Linked DNA regions of Homo sapiens: region 2 is linked to region 1. Evidence: promoter capture Hi-C in human tissues and cell types (Jung and others, 2019). All regions are on one chromosome and are shown on one strand. The core of a region is centred on a gene start or on the middle of the fragment in contact, and the rest is flanking DNA. Distances in the headings are between cores, read along the strand shown.

Region 1 (2,963 bases), core at 229-2,728:
TTAACAGAAAAATGTATTTGTACATAAGTACTAGGGTTGCATTGGCATGCCGATCTAGAGATCAAGTATGAAAAGAGTTCAAGGTTCTAGGTCTGTCATTGACAGTGACCTCAGATACATGTGAATAATTTAGGTCTTAATAACTTTAGGTCTCCTCAGTGGGTAACATTCCTTTTTTTTTTTTTTTTTTTTTTGAGACGGAGTCTCGCTCTGTCGCGCAGGCTGGAGTGCAGTGGCACCATCTCGGCTCACCACAACCTCTGCCTTCTGAGTTCAACGGATTCTCCTGCCTCAGCCTCCCGAGTAGCTGGGATTACAGACGTGCGTCACCACGCCCGGCTAATTTTTGTATTTTTAGTAGAGACGGGGTTTCACCATGTTGGCCAGGCTGGTCTCAAACTCCTGACCTCAGGTATCCACCCGCCTCGGCCTCCCAAAGTGCTGGGATTACAGACATGAGCCACCGCGCCCGGCCAACATTCTTCATGATAACATTTACCCAAGCATATTTGCTAAGAATTGTGAAATTAACCTAGCGCATTTAAGAAGGAAAATAAAAACTATCCCAAATTAATAGTAACATTGTAACATAAATCAATACGATTATCTTGAAGAAATGGGATGATTCTAGTGAAGCACTGAAATGTTTTGTTGTTTGGCCTAAACGGTTTTTGCACCGAACAAGAAACACCCTTTCTTGGATTGTCTTACCTTAAGCTTAAGTGACTTGATTACAGGTTCAGCTTTCTAACTGAAAAATACTTTAACCTGGCCCTATCCAAGGTCATTTTCTATTAGAATCTCCTAAACAACCCTTTACATCTAATTTTTCTTGCTCAACACAACAGAAGCCTCTTAAACACTCCCTTTCCTATTTGCTTGTTAAATTCTCCAGTTTGCCACGGCAAAATGTCGGAGGAAGTTAACTTGTAAAGGAACGGCAAGAAGAGAACTGAAATCGAAGGCATAATCTAAATGCAGGTGTGTAATCAGGTCGCAGGCATAGGGCAGTGGCTTGGGAGTCCCGGATTTGTCACCTCAGTAATTTAACTACTACTGAGGGTTGAGCGAAGTCACCTCAGCTGCGCTAGGGCAGGAGATCTGGGCACTTGGTCCCACCCGCCACCTCTCTCTCCCCAGCCTCCAAGGAGCGGGGAGAAGGCTCTGCCCTGCCCAGTGATGCCCTGGTTCCGGGAGGAGAGTCCCCGCTCAGGGTTCCCGCTGAGTGCCTCCTAAGCGCCACCTCTGAGGAGACGTCCCTTCCAGCGCCCGAGGGGCGTCTTACCCACAACAAACAGCTGCTCCAGCGCCTCGACCGCGACCGAGGAGCCCAGGGTGGAGGGTAAGGTGCATAACTCCAGGGAGGGGCCAGTGGAGACGGCAGCCGCCTGCACCAGCTTCTCGCCAGCGCCCAGCCCTGGGGTCCAGGGGCTCAGGGCCATTTTGCCGCTCTACTTGAGCGCCTCCTAAGCCAGAGCCAAGGATTGCCGGTTGCCACGGGCAACGAGGACACCGAGGTCGTGGGGCGCCCCCTCGTGGCCCGCACCTCTAGTAGGTACCCTCCTGGTTCTCTAATTTTATCCACGATAATTAAGCAGTCTGGGAAGAATGACTCTCTCTTTAGCTAATTTTTCCCCTTTCAATTTCCATTGCGTTAGTTCAGGCCTGTATCTTTTTTGTGGGCCACTGGAATCATAATAATGATCACTTTTGAGCGCATCTTTGTGCCGGATACTGCAGGAGAACCTTTATATACAGTAGCTCACTTAATCTTCACAAGGACTTTGTGAGCAGGCTCTTTTAGTACCTCCACTTTTACAGACACGTAAACTGAGGCGCGGGCGACTAAATGAACGGCTCAAGACCACAAGAGGATAATATTGGATTTAAAGTGACGTCTGGGCCGGGCGAGGTGGCTCACGCCTGTAGTCCCAGCACTTTGGGAGGCCAAGGCGGGAGGATCACCTGTGGTCATGAATTCAAAACCAGCCTAATCAACATGGTGAAACCCCATCTCTACTAAAAATACAAAAATTAGCCGGGCGTGGTGGCGCGTGCCTGTAGTCCCAGCTACTCAGGAGGCTGAGGCAGGACAATCGCTTGAACCCGGGAGGAAAAGGTTATAGTGAACCGAGATCTCGCCATTGCACTCCAGCCTGGGCGACAAGAGCTAAACTCCATCTCAAAATAATAAAATAAAATAATAAAGTGAAGTCTGTATGACTCTTTCTACTATGCTACAAAACCTTCTTTTGTACTAATTTAGAACTTTCCTTGTATCTAGTACATCACTGAGCACATTTTGCCTTGAATCATAGTGATTTTTCTCTGTCTTCCCATCGAACTGTGAGCTCTGTGATGACGGGGACAGGAGGATATTATTCATTTTTCTCTGCATCTCCAAAATTCAGCTTAGCATGAGGCTTAGGTTGAGTCTGTCAGTTCCTTTTCCTCTGGTGGGTTAGAGAGAAGCAAAGGTGATTCAACCCTCCTCTTCTTTTCTCTACAGATGGCAAAATTGAAATTAGAATGATAGTAACAATGACAATAGCTATCAATTGTTAAATGCTTATTTTGTTCCAGGCACTGTTTTAAATACTTTGCAGTACCCCATTTAACCCTCACAAATAATCTTTTGAGCTAGGTATTATTGCCTGCTTTGCAAGTGAGGGCACTGAGCTACATCCTAAACCACTGTGCAACACTGCCTTGGAGGGGACACAGCATACCAGTAGCAGAACTAGTTCTAGAATCCAGGCCTCCTTCATCCAGGGAGTGCCATATTTTGGTGTTGGAAACCATCCTGGACAACATCCTCCTTTTTTGCTGGATTTGGTCTATTGGTATTCAAATCTGTTCCTGCCCTTCTGGGCCCTCCTCTGTGTGGCAGGAGTAAGAAGACTGGATATGAAATTTCCTGGATGTCCTTGCCACCTGTTTTCTTGGTAAGTTCCACTAATGGG
Region 2 (2,963 bases), core at 284-2,783, 270 kb after region 1:
AAGGTAAGTTCAGTGAATATGATTTTAATATTAATACATTACATTTGCAATGGAGTGCTATTATCTTTGAAAGTGTTTTTACATTGATTTTCTCTTCCTGTATCCACATCTCACTTAACAACATCACTATCCACCCACATGTCTGAGCCGGAAACTTAAATAATTCTTAAGTCTTCTTCATCTCCAAGTTCTAATCACTGTATTTCCCAATCCCTCTTGCTCTCCACTGCCACAGTTTCGGCTCCACTGTGTCTCAATGTGGAAGTCTCCTTAACCTCCCATGCCTCACCGTATTCTACTCCTACCTTCCACATTGCTGGAGTGCTTTATAAACACAAATCTGAGAGGGCTTTTATATCACCAAAAATACCAAATTACTCTCTATTGTTAACAGAGAATAAAATCTAAAGTTCCTACTATGGCCTGTTCACCAACCCATTCTCAGCTACCCCTTCCCCAGGAAAATCTTGTCATGCATAGAACTACTACTTGTCCATATCTGATTATGCCAGCTTTACAAGTCTATTCCTTTGGACCCACTGAACCCTTTCCCTAGAAGAATCTCCCAAACCCCTACCACAATTTTCTGGCATATGACATCATTCAAGGCCCAGAAAAAGAAGCTATTTAGGCAGCTGCCATGGACAATTCTACATAGAACATGCTAGAGGAGAAAAAAAAAATCCTAAATTCCAGCATCATACATATCCGCACTATAGTAGATTAGGAACAGCAGAAGCTTGAACTCTAAACATACAGTTGATGAAGGCTCTGTATTTAAAAACCTGAGCTTGGAACAATTGCAGAAAAACAGTAATAACAACCCTGATGTCTGTAAGCAAACAGCCAGGGGTAGGTGGATCATTATAGGATGTCAACCAGGTAGGAATTGAAGACAAGGTCAACAATGTTACAGAATGAGGATGATGCAAGAAGAGAACCAGTACCACAGCTGTGACTTCTTCCTTACCCCACTGGTGCTTTTTTGTGGAAGAAGAAACAGAATGAACTGAGATGATAAATCCTGGCCCATCTGCTGCTTGTGTCCCTCCTCCTTGCTCACCTACAGCAGACATCACTCATTAATCCCGGCATTCTTTCCACAGCACTCTTCTCATCCCAGCACCCATATCTGTGCAGCCACAGCCCATGGATCAGAGTTGATGTATGCACACGTGTGTACACACACACGTGTGTACCACACACATCCACACTCATCTGTCACTTTGTTCCTGAGGTCTCAGTATTCACCTCAGAGTCCCTACCCAGACACCCTTCTGTTCAGTGTTTCTCAGTGGTTACCAAGTAAGCATAATGGAAAAAGAAGAGTAAGTGTGTATCCCAAGGGCCTTTGGGTGTAGCCTACACCCATGACACAGGGAGTTTATTTAAAGTTTCACATTTTAAAACTATGTGTGCTTTTACTCCTTGATGCATACATTTATTTGTAATAAAACAGTGTTTTGAATGGCTTACTACTGGAGAAAATGGACTTTGTGTAGTCTGGCTCCAAGTGCCCCTTGGTTCGTAGCCAGGTGTCCGCATACCTGTTTGAGATGCACAGTCTGTCCAACTCTGACAGCCATATGCACTCTCAGAGAAGCAGCCACTTTGATGAGACTGATTTTGCTTGAGAACCAGGAATAATCTGGAGGCTTAAAGATAAATGCAAATGAAGAGCTCTGTACCCCTTCATCACCATTCTAGAAACCTAGTGTCTGAGAGGAAAAACAAAATTCCTAATTGAAAAAGTCAAAAAGGGAGAAATAACAGTTTTAAGTGGTGCTGTCCCTCTCTGAATAGCCTTCCCTATGCTTCATCTTGCTAATTTCTCATGCTTTAAAACTCACTTCCAGAACCTTTTCCAGTAAAAAGCTTTTTCTGACTTTCTCATCTGCTTAGATGCTTGATGTAGATCATGTACATACTTCTATCGTATTTCTTCACATAAAATATCATTGTTTCTTTATCTCCTTCATTAGACTATAACTTTCTTAAACCTTTATATCCACAAACATGTAGCATAATAGTATCTGGCAGGTAAGTGTATAACAATGAAAAATAGTCCCTATCTCTTTAGTATTGTTCCCCATAAGCCCTACATTATACAATATTTTTATCTACCAATAGTATTTTAAAGTACATAATGATTAACCAATGTTTCCATTTGACTAATAAAAGATGTTTTATCTGAGCATGTCCATAAACATAATAAATGGAAAATCCTTTTAAGTGTTAAAATTACTTGTTAATTTAGATTGTTGCTGTTTTGTTTTGCTCATGTGGGCTCATACAAGTTTTAGCTAAAGGTGTAAAACCCCAATATTTAAAATGTGTGTCATTTTCTAGTCATTCACAGGACTTGGTGCAAAACAATTATCTGCTTTCTATCATAAAATCATGGAATCCTGACAAAAGGAATACAAAGAACATTTGAAGTGATCAAGTTCGACTTCCCACTTAAAAAATATGCCTCCTTCTAAACCTCCCTGGTAAGTGATCATGAAGTCTCTGCTTGGACCCTTCCAGTGATGGAGAACGCCCTGCTTCATGCTACATGCTTTTTGGAATAGCTCTAACACCTGAACCCACAGCCTTTCCTGCATATGAAGAGACTGCAGAGGAAGCTGGCACAGATTGCCCAGCCCAGCAGTCAGGAAGTGGGCTCAGGGCCCGAATTTGTTTACAAATCCCACGTGAAGACTTTTAGCCAGGCCACTCTGCTGGAGACCTGAAATAATTTTTCTCACCAGGCCCAAACCTGCTTCTAAGCCCCACTTCATTAGAGCCTCTTTCATCTTAGCAACCACTTTCATCTTTCATCTGAGTAATGGCTCAGATTTTGAAGGCCTAGAGTTGAAGAGACCATAAAGTCTTCCTCTCCACAAACTAATGAAACATCAATTCACCATTATTATGCCTTTTATCTACAGAAAAGTAGGATCTAACTTGTAATGGTCACC

What was found. The method cuts DNA at HindIII sites, captures the fragments that hold promoters and counts their contacts. A contact is called where the count stands out against the background at its distance.
Region 2: a contact is called between a fragment that was not itself captured here and the fragment with the promoter of CCDC175 in region 1, in 1 of the 25 tissues and cell types used here (spleen).

Annotation. Positions count from the first base shown.
Region 1 is chr14:59,575,334-59,578,296 of GRCh38, forward strand. CCDC175 (coiled-coil domain containing 175) reads right to left here and starts at 1,479. Exons shown (of 20, transcript NM_001164399.2): 1 at 1,286-1,479. The coding sequence starts at 1,442. The HindIII fragment of the contact is 13,786 bases long and covers 1-2,963 here.
Region 2 is chr14:59,845,241-59,848,203 of GRCh38, forward strand. All of the region lies in intron 1 of RTN1 (reticulon 1), which reads right to left. Among named protein-coding and RNA genes, the nearest start is that of RTN1, 24 kb to the right of the region's middle. The HindIII fragment of the contact is 3,188 bases long and covers 1-2,963 here.